Regions from separate parts of the Homo sapiens genome. Here region 2 is linked to region 1. The links are contacts of gene promoters, found by promoter capture Hi-C in blood cells and fetal thymus (Javierre and others, 2016). All regions are on one chromosome and are shown on one strand. Each heading gives the region's core, a stretch centred on a gene start or on the middle of the fragment in contact. The rest is flanking DNA. Distances are from core to core; before and after follow the strand shown. Region 1 holds the start of OR56B4 (olfactory receptor family 56 subfamily B member 4). Region 2 holds the start of OR52L1 (olfactory receptor family 52 subfamily L member 1).

What was found. The method cuts DNA at HindIII sites, captures the fragments that hold promoters and counts their contacts. A CHiCAGO score of 5 or more calls a contact.
Region 2: a contact is called between the fragment with the promoter of OR52L1 here and the fragment with the promoter of OR56B4 in region 1, in 12 of 17 cell types (activated CD4 T cells, erythroblasts, M2 macrophages and 9 more). The highest score is 9.0, in activated CD4 T cells.

What each region holds. Positions count from the first base shown.
Region 1 is chr11:6,103,922-6,111,654 of GRCh38, reverse strand. It overlaps OR56B4 (olfactory receptor family 56 subfamily B member 4), which reads right to left and starts at 3,971. Exons shown (of 1, transcript NM_001005181.2): 1 at 2,820-3,971. The coding sequence starts at 3,876. The coding sequence ends at 2,917. LOC124902622 (a long non-coding RNA gene) reads left to right here. Exons shown (of 3, transcript XR_007062565.1): 2 at 1,307-1,391; 3 at 6,918-7,668. The HindIII fragment of the contact is 4,106 bases long and covers 3,446-7,551 here.
Region 2 is chr11:5,982,747-5,990,078 of GRCh38, reverse strand. It overlaps OR52L1 (olfactory receptor family 52 subfamily L member 1), which reads left to right and starts at 3,094. Exons shown (of 1, transcript NM_001005173.3): 1 at 3,094-4,187. The coding sequence starts at 3,149. The coding sequence ends at 4,138. LOC124902621 (a long non-coding RNA gene) reads left to right here and starts at 5,003. Exons shown (of 2, transcript XR_007062564.1): 1 at 5,003-5,172; 2 at 5,556-5,713. It also overlaps a transcript of OR56A3 not described here. The HindIII fragment of the contact is 2,597 bases long and covers 2,971-5,567 here.

The DNA.
Region 1 (7,733 bases), core at 2,722-5,221:
ATTCAAGGAGAAGGGGAACTAAGTTCAATTTCTTGATACGGAATTGTTAATGTTTCACTGCAAAAGAGCATGTGAGGTGGGAGCTATTATTATGCTTGTCTTTGGAATGTGCCATATTCAGTGAGATGTTCAACAGAGAATAAAAGAGACATAAAAATGATAAAGTTCTTATCTTGAGCTTGGAATTGGAATGAGAAAATACTGCATAACTATTATGTAATTTGGGCATATTAATAAAAAAGTATAAGTTTGAATGTGTTAATAAAGTTATGCATACAACAACCTGTCAAATAGATATATTTAATAAAATGTGCAGATCAATGAAATGGGGATGTGGGGAGATGTGTGAAAGAGATCAGTTCAGCAAAAGTCAGGAGTAGGAGAAATCTGCCAGAAAACATAATAAAAATAAATAAGATGACAGGGTGAAACAAAACAAAATCATAGGAATTATAACAAATATGAATGGACTTAGTTCCCCTATTTAAAGGGAAAGTTCCTCAAATATGGTTAAAAATAAAGATCAAACTAACGGTGTTTCCAAAAGACAGACTAAAGTTAAAATATCAAAGGAATATGGAAAGAAGTGAATGAGAGAAGACAAACAGGCAAATATAGTATGACAGTATTAAAATCATATAAAGCAAAGCATATGGGCAAATATGAAATACATGACAAACATAAATAATTCATAAAAATAAAACAATGCACAATCTTTTTTTATCCTCATGGCACATATAGAGGAGAGAATAATTAATTGCATAAATCTTCCTGACTCCAAGATGAATGTTAGGTGTTTATTTATTTTCAGAAGAACTGAGACACATGTCCACAGAAGTTGTTGAGAGTGGCCTACAATTTGGGCTGCTGTGCATAGACTCATGCTATGTATTTTTGAATGAATGAATAAATAAACAAATAAATAAATAAAGGTATGTATGAATGAAAGTTTAAAGGCAGCTTTGAGGATGGCACACTATTGCCATCTACCAGAGACAGCTAAACTGCCTGAGCCTCAGTACTGCCACTTCCCAGTGGGTGAATTTATATAATTACCCAAACTTAGCCCCTATTTCTTTGTAGAAAAGAATTAATAGTAATCCTTTAACAGCTTCCTAATTAAGAGGACTGCTATGAAAATTATGTGAAATTACTCAATCCACTGTGGGAAAGTATTTTGCAAACTGTGAAGAACTCTGCAGGATTAGATGTTATTACTCTGATCCTTCAGGGTAACAAACCATGGGAGGTTGAGTTAAGTTAAAATCCTTTCTGTAATTGTCTCTCTCTTGCCTCCTCTTATTAGATGATCAGTTGCTTCCATTTGAATCACTGTCAAGAAAGAATGAAGCAGCCAATTCTTTTGGAGGAAGTTGATAGTCTCTTTTTGGGTAAGTTTCCAAGCATAACTCTTAAGAAGTCCTGTCCCGCACACAGATGACTTCCCCCTGCAGCTCTGTTATGCTGCCCAGCATGCATTACTCTGGTGAGATGAGCTGATGGTTTCTGATGTTGCTTTAGTCCTTGTGCTATTTCCTAAGAAGTTGTTTTCCAAGGTGGACTCATGTGCAAACTTCCTGAGGTCATTATTCAGACCATGGTCCAGGTATTTTCTTTGATACACATAATTCAACAGATCTATAATGCTCCCTGATTATATAATGAATTAAGCACCTACTGTGTGCAATGTTCTGACTGAGGCTCATTGAAAGTACACATGAATGGTTCTTGTACTCAAAAAGTGTGCAATTTTTTTAGGTGAGCAAACAGCAAAAATTCAGTTAGCTTTAATTAACAGGTTATTTGAAACTATTTTTATAGGGCATTTTCTAGGATCCATTTTCTTCCTTTCCTAGCAAGAAAACTGCCACATAGTTAGATTTATATTTCCATGTGTATATCTTATTTCAAAGCATGTATTCTTTATCTCTTTTGATTGTCACAGCATGTTTGCGATTTGGCTCAGCAAAATGTTATGATTTTTGTCACTTTTAATCAGAAGAATTGAAACATAGGGAGGTTTCATAAGTTGTTCAAGTTCACACAGAAATTTTGGAACAGAGCAAGACTGAGAGTAAGAATAGTGCTATGGTTTTTCAATCAGACTTCCCAGGACTTGAATCCCAGCTCTCCCACTTAGAAACTGTGCTGTCAGGGGGCAAGTTCTATAATTTCCAGTGCCTGAGTTTTCTTAGCTGGAAATTGGGAATAATATTGTACCTGCCCAAAGGGTTATTGTGAGAATTGAGTCAGATAATCTACATACATATTTTATCAAAGTTTCTGGCCTACAAGAAGTATTTAACACTTGTTAACCATTAATTCATTAATTATTGAGATTTTTTTGGGTACGAAAATTAAACTTTACTCCTTTTTAATAAACATTTATTGTTTACTTTTTATTATAAAAATTACATATGAAAAGCACATAAATATGTAAGAGTTAAATATGTGTAAATATTAAAGGCTTTGTTTTCTATTATTAGTCATATTATAATGATTTTTATGAATAACTTTTTGACTGCATTTAGACTATTTCTTTTGGATATTTTTCTAAAATAGAATTACTGGTTAAGAACATTTAAACATTTATAAACATTTTGATAAATTTTACCAAATTGCTTTTTGGTGTGTTTATAGTCCTACCAGTTGTGTAGGAAAGTGTTAATCTCGGGGTAGGCTAGCAGTAATAGTTAGAAACATTTCACTTTTTTGTTCTTACTTATTTTCCAGGTAATAGGAAATTTTCTTGTAATTTTAATATACATATTTTGATTAGTGAGGCTGACAGTTTTCATGATTTTATTGGCCATTTTTTTCCTAGGGAGTGTGGTAAGTGCAGATTATAACCCTGATCTATTGAGAACTAAAACCTCTGTCATTTCCTAACATCTTACTGGATTCCTAAAGCTGGAGTTACTTGGACACGTCCTGACCCAGTCCAAGCAGTCTCTGAAAGCCCAGTCTGAGTTTGTGCATCCTGAGTGCACAGGCCAGGGGGTTGAGTGCAGGGGGGATGACATTGTGCAGCACATTAAGGAACACAGGAATAAGGGGAATCTTTTTCTCTGCAAGGTGTGTGACAGACAGCACAATGATACCTGTGTGGAAGAGGATGAGGATGAGGTGGGAGCTACAAGTGCTCAGAGCCTTGGACATTGCTTCTGCTGAGTTCAGCCTCAGCACAGAGTGAAGGATTACAGCATAGGAAGAAAATACCAGAGCCATATCACTCCCAACCAAGACCCATGCTAGCATCAGTTGGTAAAATTTGTTCACAGTGATGTCATCACAAGCCAGGCTGATAACCCCCAAGTTAGAGCAGAGGCAGTGCTCGATTTCATTCCTGGAACAGTAGTGTCTCTGGGCAGCCAGTATAGGCACTGGGATGGTCAACAGGCCATTCCTGAGCATGATGAACCCTGTGGCTTTGAAGACAAAAGCTTTAGTGACTATGGAGGGGTACTGAAGAGGGCGACAGATGGCTATGTATCTGTCTACTGCCATGCAGAGAAAGATGCCTGACTCTATGCAGAAGAAGCAGTGGATGGCATAGATCTGAGCAAAACACATGGGGAGGCTAATGGCCTTGGCATCAAACCAGAAGATGGCCAGGATCTTGGGCATGATGGTGGTGGCCAGGCCAATGTCCACCACTGCTAATATGCCCAGCAAATGGTACATGGGTTCATGTAGCACGGTCTCATGTTGAATGGTGATTATGATGAGGAGATTGGCACCAAGAGCTAAGAGGTAGAGCAGAGTCAGGGGCAGGGAGAGCCAGTGCTGCCACTCATGAATGCCTGGTAATCCCATCAGGATGAACTGGGAAATCTGGAGGCTGGAGTCATAGGTAACACTGGTGGAGGTATCCATGGAATGGGTGCCTCAGTCTCAGTGTCTGTCTGAAATAGAAGAAATCTCTGTTTAAAAGTTCAGCTAAGGGGCTGAGCATCGTGGTTCATGCCTGTAATCCCAGCACTTTGGGAGGCTGAGACAGGCAGATAATTTGAGGTCAGGAGCTCGAGACTGACCTGGCTAACATGGCAAAATCTCATCTCTGCGGAGAATACAAAAATTAGCTGGGTGTGGTGGTGCCTGTCTGTAATCCCAGCTACTTGGGAGGCTGAGGCATGAGAATCATTGAACCTGGGAGGCGGAGGTTGCCGTGAGCCGAGATTGTGCCACTGCACCCCAGCCTGGACAACAGAGTGAGACCCTGTCTTAAAAAACAAAACAAAACAAAAAGTTAAGTGTCTTGGTAAGAGCTCCTCAATAATGAACCAGCTCCTTTTATTCATGAATGACCCTCAACTTTATTTGACTTCTGGAAATATTCCACAGAGGAATAACAAAAAAAGCAAAAAAATTCTAAACAGAAGAGTTGGAATAACTATTTTTCATCACCACTTGTATGTCTAATAAGCATGTCCACATATATTAACAACAGTCTTATCACTAACAGATAACAAATGTTAGTATTTGATTTATTTCCAATTTTCTATTTTATTTTTAAACAGTCTACATCATTATCTAGAGATGATTTTGTATCTTGTTTTTGTCTTTTAGCAGTATGTGTTAAGATGTAATATAAGCACTCAAAAATTTTATTTCATGGATGAATACATTAACCAAAGACTTCACAATATTATTTAAAAAGTGTGATGTTAATTTTAATTGCTGCTTTAAATTTTTGCATTTGGCTATTCTATAATTTACTGACAGGTATTTTGCTTTTAATATTGTTTTCCTTGAGTAGAGTTTCAAAAGTGATGCAAAAATTATATATACAAAGGATATAATAGTCTTAAAATTTTAAATATAATTTTGATTTTATTTTAAGATATATTATCTATACATGGTAAAAATCAAAATAAAATGAAAAATATAAACAATGAAAAGTAAGACTCTCATGCTTGGGGCTTTGAAATCTTTTTCCTTTTCACTAGAGGCAGCCAGTAATATGTTTCTTGGGAATCCTTCCATTAATAGTTTATGCATGGATAAAAACATATATATATATATATATATATATATATAATTTTCATAAAAGACATAATCAATTGTTAGCACACCTTTCTCCTTTTTTCTTTCCTTTTCTTTTTTAACTTAATATTTTGAAGACTGCTCCATATTTCCATACTGCAGTTAAGTTGCATTATTTTCTACCACCTAGATGCCCTATAGTTTAATGATTTTTTTTTGTATTTTTAGAATTGATATATCATATTTGTAGATATTTTGGAGGTACATGTGATATTTTGATACATGTATACAATGTGTAATGATCGAATCAGTGTAATTAGGATATCCATCACCTCAAGCATTTATCTTTTCTTTGTGTTAGGAACATTGCAATTCTCTTTTAGCGATTTTGAAACATACAGTAAATTATTAACTATAATTTTCCTACTGTGCTATTGAATACTAGAACTTATTTCTTCCACCTAACTGTATTTTTGTCCCCATCAGCCACCCTCTATTCTTCCCCTACCCCCACCCTTTCCGGCCTCTGGTAACCACCATTCTATTCATTACTTCTGTGAGATCCACTTTTTTTCTTTTTCCGGCTCACTGCAAACTCCACCTCCCAGGTTCAAGCGATTCTCCTGCCTCAGCCTCCCGAGTAGCTGGGATTACAGGTGTGTGCCACCACACCCGGCTAATTTTTGTATTTTTAGTAGAGATGGGGTTTCACCATGTTGGCGAGGCTGGTCTCAAACTCCTGACCTCAGGTGATCTGCCTGCCTTGGCCTCCCAAAGTGCTGGGATTACAGGCGTGAGCCACCGTGCCCAGCTGAGATCCACTTTTTAAGCTCCCAAACATGTGTAGGAACATGTAATATTTGTCTTTCTCTACTTGATTTATTTCACTTAACACAATAACCTCCAGTTCCATTCATGTTTCTGCAAATGACAGGATTTTATTCCTTTTTGTGGCTGAATAATAGGCCACTGTGTGTGTGTGTGCGTATCACATTGGATATATATATACACTCTCTATACTATATACAGTGTGTGTATATATAGTGTGTATGTATCTATATATATCTCTCTCTATATATCTCATATTTTCTTTATCCATTCATCCATTCATGAACACTTAGGTTGATTCCATATGTTCGCTATTGTGAATAGTGCTGCAATAAACATGACAGTGCAGATATCTCTTCTATTTACTGATTTCCTTTCTTTTGGATATAAACCCAGCAGTGAAGTTGCTGTACCATATGGTAGTTCTCTTTTTAGTTTTTTTGACGAACCTCCATATTGTTTTCCATAATGGCTGTACTACTTTACAATCCCACCAACAGTGTACAAACATTCCCCTTTCTCTGCACCTTTGCTTGCACTTTCATATTTTTGATAATAGCCATTCTAACTGGAATGAGATGATATCTCTTGTGGTTTCGATTTTCATTTCCCCAATGATTAGTGATGTTGAGCAGTTTTTAATATAGCTATTCACCATTTGTATGTCTTCTTTTGACATATCTGTTCAGATATTCTGCTTTTTTTTTTTTTTTTTTTTTTGAGACGGAGTCTTGCTCTGTCGCCCAGGCTGGAGTGCAGTGGCACAATCTGGGCTCACTGCAAGCTCTGCCTCTGGCCTCAGCCTCCCCAGTAGCTGGGACTACAGGCGCCCACCACCATGCTTGGCTAATTTTTTGTATTTTGGGTTTCACTCTGTTAGCCAGAATGGTCTCAATCTCCTGACCTAGTGATCCACCCGCCTCGGCTTCCCAAAGTGCTGGAATTACAGGCGTGAGCCACCGCACCCAGCCTCTGCTTCCTTTTTAGTTGGATTATCTGTTTTTTTCTAGTGAGTTTCATATATATTCTGGTTATTAATCCCTTGTCAGAGATTTTGCAAATATTTTCTCCCTTTCTCTCCTCATAAATTGTTTTTCTTTCAGTAAACATGTGAGTTTGAAACAGAAGGAAGTTTGCAAGAAAACATCAAAAAGTTATCAGACATGTTTCTTCCTCCAATAGGTGTCAGTTGGCCCACGGAAAAATCCACCCATAAAAAGTAAATGTAAGCTCACTTTCTTAAAGATTCTGTAGGTTGTATATTTGTTGGGCTTTTAATCTGTTTCCAGCATTTTCTACTATAAAAAATGAAGCTGTGAATGTACTTTTTCTTGTATCTTTATGCATATGTATAAGTTTCTCCACATAATAATTTCCAAGAACTGAACTGCTGGGTCAAATGGAATGAAACGATATTGATTTGACAAGACAAATTGTCTTTTAAAGAGGTTATTCTGACCCTGTATGAAAGTATGGGGATTTTGAATGCTCTTGATGTATACTAAAATGATGTATACTAAAATAGGTACATTGTAGTACTTTACACACACAGAATTTGTTCATGAGTGTGTCTGTTTCATCATGTCCATGCCAAAACTGGGAATTTTAATTTAAAATATTTATTAATTATTCTATTAATATAATAGAATGAAAATTGATATATCAATTTTGTTTTAGTGTTCACTTCATTGTTTAGTAAATTTTAATTTTCAAGCACTCATTTTCCATTTATAAGCTTACTCATTAATTTTCTATTTTATCTTATTGTCTATTTGTTATTTATCCAATTTGTCTTGTAGTACTAAAGAAAATAATGTTTTTAAAGTGCTTACCATTGCAGTATATACTACTTGGGTGATGGATGCACCAAAATCTCAGAAATTACCACTAAAGAACTTATCCATGTAACCAAACACCAC
Region 2 (7,332 bases), core at 1,845-4,344, 120 kb after region 1:
ATGCAGGGACAAAGTGGTAAAGGCATTACAATAGGAAAGAAAAGGAGACATGTCATACTACCTTACAGAATTTGAGCACAACTTCACAAAAGAAAGGTTGCTTGGGTTGAATTAGATGAATAAGTACCAATTGAACAACATCTACTCTTTGGTAATTGTCCTCTGCTTTGTAGTTGAATAACTAAATACAGCTTTGCCTTTAGGTTCCTGGGAATAAAGTCCTTTCTGCTTTTCCTCTAAGAATCATAGCGGGACCTCCTGTTTACTTTAATAACAATTAATTGCAATTTATTTAAAAAATTCAAGAGCTTTAAGAGTATAAGTGGTTTTGGTTACATGGATGAATTGTATAGTGATGAAGTCTGGGCTTTTTAGTGTACCTATTATCTGAATAGTGTACATTGTGCCCAATATGGGATTTTTTTATGCCTTATCCACCTCCCACCCTCCCCTACTCTGAGTCAGAAATTAAATTAAAATAAGTTAAAAAATTAACATTTACTAAGCACTTGCAGACTTTTACCCTAGGCTTACGAGCCAAGCAACACAAAGTAGAAGCCGGTTATACTCAGTTACATGTGTCTCTGCTTTTCCGCTTATTTGTTTACTTAATTTACTTCTCTGCTTTATTTACTTACTTCTTACTTTATTTACTTTATTTACTTCTCTACTTATTTATTTACTTATTTCAGCAGCCCCAGGGCTAGTTTGGTTTTAGCCTCACTGCTCTGCTCACACTGCTACTATTCAAGTCTTGAGTGCCTTCCACAAATGCACAGCTGTTCTCTGACTCCTTAGCTAAAAAATGAGAAATGGGCTGAAGCGTGCAACAGAAGGAGGTAGGCAAAAAAGACAATGGACTTTCTCTCTATGTGGAATGTTAAGCACTGAGAGGTGAATTTTTGTAAGATTATGAGATTCCCCTGGATGTCTCAATAAAAATGTCATTGTTATTTCAAGTTGATTCTAGAAGAAAAACAGAGAAACTTGGGAGATATATGCCCACGTGGCATTTCAGACTTTATAGCTATCATATTCAGAGTTTTAGGGCAATATGATTGTCATCATTAATTTGTACAAAAAGAGCTCTGAGTAATCTATGGATGCATTATCCACAAGAACTAAGTCATTCTTGACTTTTTAATCTTTACACGCACATGTGCACCACCACTCCAACAGAGAAAAATACAGTTATTTCAGACTACGCCTGTCCTTTAAGACAAACATACCTACATACACATATCCAGTTTCAAGTTTTTTCTTTTAGTAAATTTCAAGGGTGAATCCCATGGACAAAGTTGATACTTCATGTTAACATGCGGTTGTCAAAGACACTGAATTGTTTGTTATAATATCATGATGAGAGGTAAACATATCAAAAGTTTGAAAAAGAGAAGCAGAGTCATGGAGACAAAGAAGAAAAGAAAGAAGCCTGTGGTCTAATTCTCAGTCATCTTCTATTGCTAATATTAAAATAATTATAACTATAATTTGTAGACTAATCTAGATATCAAGACTTTACATATATTACTTAATTAATGTTTACAATAAACCTGTAAGATTGATGTTAGTTATAAAATAAGGAAATCAAGACTGAGAGAGTTTTAGTATCCTGCCAAGGTTTTATTCCTAGAATATGAAATGGACAAAATTTAAACTAAGTCTGTCTTCCTCCATTGCTTTTATTTATCTCACTACATTGTGAAATGTTCACCATGCTATGTTATAATTATAAAGTATAATAAGATATGTTTCTTTAAAAAAACAAACCATTAAGACACTGATAGAATTTCTAGAGATAAGTCAGAAAGTTATGGATGAATAAAGGAAGATTATAAAGTGCTCTGAACATAATCAATATTCATCTGACATAGGCAATGAGTCCTTTTGAGGGGTGACAGTGGACTTTGAATTTTGAAGGACCAATTCAGATAAAGGAATTTGGAGACAGACTACACAAAAGGCATAGGTAAGCTTGGTGTGTACATGTAACTCCAAGAATGCAGGGATGGTTAGTAAAACATATGTAGAAATATATCAACTGTAAGACAAAAGTAATGCAAAAAAGATAACTTTTGATAATCTTTTATGCCAGTCTCAAAGTATGATTTTATTCCATGCAATAAATTCACCAAAGGATTTTAATCTTAGGAGTGATATGATGAGATCTGCATTTTAGAAAAAAAACCCATGACTTCAGGGTTGAGAGTGAATTGGGAAGGTGTTTATGGCAAAGGCAGAAAGATGTTATGAAATAGTCCAGGTGAGAGAAGTTGGGTGTAAACTAAGGTAGTGATATTGGGGGTTGAGAAGAAGGAGTGGATATAAGAGGGGTTAACATAAAGTCAACATGAATTGGTGAATGAATAAAAGGGGATGAGGATTATGAGTAAAGACAGGTTCCAAGTTTTTAGATTGGGTTGTGTAGGTAGCTAGGGATGTAATTAAAAATTATTGCCAAAACATAAGTAGAACAAATTTGGGAAAAATAGGTGAATTAATCCAATGTTGAATATGTTGAGGATGTGGTGTATAGATATTCATAAAGCAAATGGAAAAATGGATTTATATTTCAGAAGGATATTTGGGTAAACAGACATAAATTTGGAAGAAATAAAAGTATATAAACAGTTAAAACCATGGGAATAAATGAAGTCAATTAAGAGATAATGCACAGAATAGGGAATACAGGAGAGGATGGATCCCTGGAATCAATGACATAATGAGATAGAGAAAATGGTGGGACCAAGGCTACAGGGGGAACAACTCTGGAGTGCCATGTCATGGAAACTGAGGAAGACTAATTTCAAAAACAACAGATTGATTCACAGTGGTCAGTAATACCAAGAGGCTAATAAAAATAACTCTTTGAAGTTGACAGTTCCAAAATATAAGCAACTGAATAGTAGAGTTTAAGCATCTCTCCAAAAGCAGCTTATGTTTACTCTTATCTCTAAACAAAACTAAGCTTGTATTAATTCAGACATGTGGATGTCTCACTTGTAAAAGAATTATCTCCACCAAAGGAGATTTTCTTCCCTGTAGCTAACTTTATTCCCTTCGTTTGCAGTTGAAGTCACTTTATTCTTCTCAGGATGATGGTTGCCCCATTTGGACAATGTGATAATGTAGCAGGAATGCAGAAATCATGACTTTGGTTTCTTTTTTCTCTTTCCTCTCCAAGCCATTGATAATGCTCCTTAGCAATTCAAGCTGGAGGCTATCCCAGCCTTCTTTTCTCCTGGTAGGGATTCCAGGTTTAGAGGAAAGCCAGCACTGGATTGCACTGCCCCTGGGCATCCTTTACCTCCTTGCTTTAGTGGGCAATGTTACCATTCTCTTCATCATCTGGATGGACCCATCCTTGCACCAATCTATGTACCTCTTCCTGTCCATGCTAGCTGCCATCGACCTGGTTCTGGCCTCCTCCACTGCACCCAAAGCCCTTGCAGTGCTCCTGGTTCATGCCCACGAGATTGGGTACATCGTCTGCCTGATCCAGATGTTCTTCATCCATGCATTCTCCTCCATGGAGTCAGGGGTACTTGTGGCCATGGCTCTGGATCGCTATGTAGCCATTTGTCACCCCTTGCACCATTCCACAATCCTGCATCCAGGGGTCATAGGGCGCATCGGAATGGTGGTGCTGGTGAGGGGATTACTACTCCTTATCCCCTTCCCCATTTTGTTGGGAACACTTATCTTCTGCCAAGCCACCATCATAGGCCATGCCTATTGTGAACATATGGCTGTTGTGAAACTTGCCTGCTCAGAAACCACAGTCAATCGAGCTTATGGGCTGACTATGGCCTTGCTTGTGATTGGGCTGGATGTTCTGGCCATTGGTGTTTCCTATGCCCACATCCTCCAGGCAGTGCTGAAGGTACCAGGGAGTGAGGCCCGACTTAAGGCGTTTAGCACATGTGGCTCTCATATTTGTGTCATCCTGGTCTTCTATGTCCCTGGAATTTTCTCCTTCCTCACTCACCGCTTTGGTCATCATGTACCCCATCATGTCCATGTTCTTCTGGCCACACGGTATCTCCTCATGCCACCTGCGCTCAATCCTCTTGTCTATGGAGTGAAGACTCAGCAGATCCGCCAGCGAGTGCTCAGAGTGTTTACACAAAAGGATTGATCTGAACATATTCTCATTGTTTCCTTCGGAGGCTTCTTCTGCGGACCACAGCCAGGAGCCTGTGACTGGTGTAGATTACATGAATACAGACCATTTTGCAGTGAGTATTCCTTCTAGTCTTACTAGTGCCATGCTAAAGAACACCCACAGATACTTGGCTTATTGGGATGTACCTGGATATCTGGATTTGTGAATATTTTTGCCATTTTTTCTTTTGCTCTTGATTTCAACATTTCTCTACTCCTTGTGTCAGTAGGACTTGGGGATAGGAGAAATAGATGATAGCTCTGAATGTGTCATCTTTCTCGCCTTTGCCCAATGGTAGGCCATGCAACACTGTCTGGAATTGTAAAGTCCCACCCTTTGGTTGGTTTTAGGTTTAGAGTTTCTTCAAAACCTCTAAGTTAGTGCTGGGATCCCCAGATCATTGGCTCCTGTTTACCAATAGGGTCTCTTCAAAGCAGCTGAGAAGGTCGCAGTGTAAGAAAACAGCATTTATTGCAATATGGGTATTACTTATTTATTTAAAACAAACATAAGTGGAGAAGTTATGGTAATAGGCTCTAGGAATAATAAAATATAATTTCTATTTTCAAGGAAGAAATCTATATGTGTCTAGGAAATTTATTTTAAAAGATATCTCTTTGTATTTTCAACTTATTTATATTCATGCTTTGGATAAAGAAGGAATAAGACCAAGTACTGCGTATATGTTTGTTTTATAAATATTCATTAAAAAACCCAAAAGTAACCATATAATTATTAGCATCTAATAACTACAAAATGTGCTAGATCCCGGTGTTGGTAAACATAGCTATAATAAATAAAGCAATAAGTATAGTAGCAGTTATGGACACTTAAAAATGGGTTTCTCTTTTGGAAATAGGGCATGTGGAGTGGTGTCAATTAGATCTTCTATTTCTGTTAATAGGAACTGGGTGAAAACTTAAAAGATGACTGCTACAATTGATATATTGCAACCTGTTTGTTGATGTTGCCCTGAGATCTGGCCTAATTATTTTTGTTCCTAGAAGGTAACACATTTTGTTTAGTCATGGAAGAAGTCAAGTCATTGCTACTTTGATGTAAGATGCTCGGGAGATAAGATTTATTTTGGGATTTCATATTGGTAGGAGGGGTAGAGTTAATAGTTGTTTTTTCTAGTTTTTCTTTTCTTAGTAAATTTTACTCATAATAACTAGTACTCTGTCTGAGAGGCTTAGTATCAGGCCTTTAACTTGGCCGTTGCAAGTAGATGAATTAGGGAGGACTGGTATGAGCTGTTTTTATTGCAGGAGGAATTGCACATTCTAATCAGCTTCATTCCCAGTCTAGGGCTTAAACTCTGGTAAATTGTCCTAGAGAAAATCAGGGTATGATGTATTACATCTATTGTAACAAACTCTCTTAACCCTAGAGAGTCTAAGCTTCATCTCAGGCAGCTTTCTTGGATCACAAGACAGAAATGTGAACTGAAGATGGAAGAGTAACAATACAGAAGAGCTGTGTTCCTGACACTGTCTGGGCCACCAACCATGACTTGAACCTGAAACAGAAATAAACCTGTATCTGGGTTAAACCACCATTTTTTTGGTAATCTTTGTTGTAACAGACCAACCTACAGCCTAAAAAGTATACGTTTTTCATCTCAGATCTTCCAAGTGGGATATGTATTCTTTTGCCTGAAGTATATCTTTTAGAATTCCCTCTTGTAAAGGTTTGCAGTTTTTGTTTGTTTAAAAATGTCTTTAATGCAGGGTTCTCTGGTAAGTCATAATTAGAAAATACAAGTGGAACCAGAGGATAGAGGAGAGACTCTTAATTCTAAATCTTTGCACCTCTTCCTACTACCTTATTCCACCTGGACATGAGGCAATTTAATTTGAAAATTCGACTCCAAGCACAATTATCCAGCCATCTGAAAGACATCGCAAAATCTCATAAATGGAACCTTAGCGGAATATAAAATGCAAAACAGTGAGTGGCTGTTTTCCAGGTTTCTCTCTAAAAAGCAGGTCACAGGCTCTTATGCAGGTTAGGCTATGGTATTTAAATACAAAAAAAGAGAGTGTTTACTACCATCCTTACATATCCATGAGGCAGGCAGTGAAACAGATCAGAACATGTTTTGTACTTTTGAAACACAATAACCCCATCCATTGCATCCATTGCTCCCAATGATCTCTGCCCAATTGTATTAGTGACCCTTCTTCCCATATGGAAAAGCAAGCAAAGGAGAGAAGAAACCGGAGAGAAGAGAGAAGTATTCACTCCCATATGTCCCCCTTGTGGGGAGAGGAAGAAGAGCCTTCCTCTGTGGAAGTATAAAGTGTAGAGAATGAGTTTTGTTCTAATAGGCAGTATGAGGGAGCCTTCTCATCCTTTGGGTGAGGGAACTTTGGGCTTATTGCTAATGTCACATGGGGGTTTAGAAAGGCATGGGGAGCAGGGGCAGGAGATTTTTTTTTTTTTTTAGTATGTGTGCAGGGTCATAGTCTCTTACCAATACAGAATTAAATTGGAAAACAATAACAATAAGGTAGCATGAAAAGAGTTAAATAATTGGAAACTAAACTAAATACATCTCAATAACCCATGGATCAACTAAGAAATCACAGAGGAAGTCAGAAAATATTTCAAACTGATTGAAAAGTACATATAGCAAAAGTTGTGAGATGTAGCCAAAGAGAAAACAGAGAAAAATTTATACTTTAAATGCCTATATTAGAAAAGAGTAAAGTTGTAAAATCAATTATCTAAGTTAACAACTTAAGAATTTAGAAAAGGAACAATAAATTAAGTCCAAGGTAAACAAGAGTAAGGTATTCATAGTGATGAGAGCAGAATAGAGAAGAGCCAATATGGCTGACTAGACACAGCCAGGAAGAGCTTCTCCCACCAAGAGACAAAACCATCAAGAATACTGACAACACTTTGGGCAGATCTTTGGAAGGGAGGAATTGAGAGCAGACTGAGGGAGGACACAGACGCTGGGCTGAAAGAGGAGGAAGCTGGAAATCCTGCATGGGGTTGCTGAGCACCAGGTCTCATTTCTGGCCTTGAGTGGCTCCTGGGGAAGGAGTGAATTAAATAGGCAATGTGTGGCCCACTCTCCATGTACCTCTGGAATCCTAGCTGCAGGGGACCCCACAACCCCCATAAACATTTGAGCTATCAGGGAGAAGTGTTTGGAG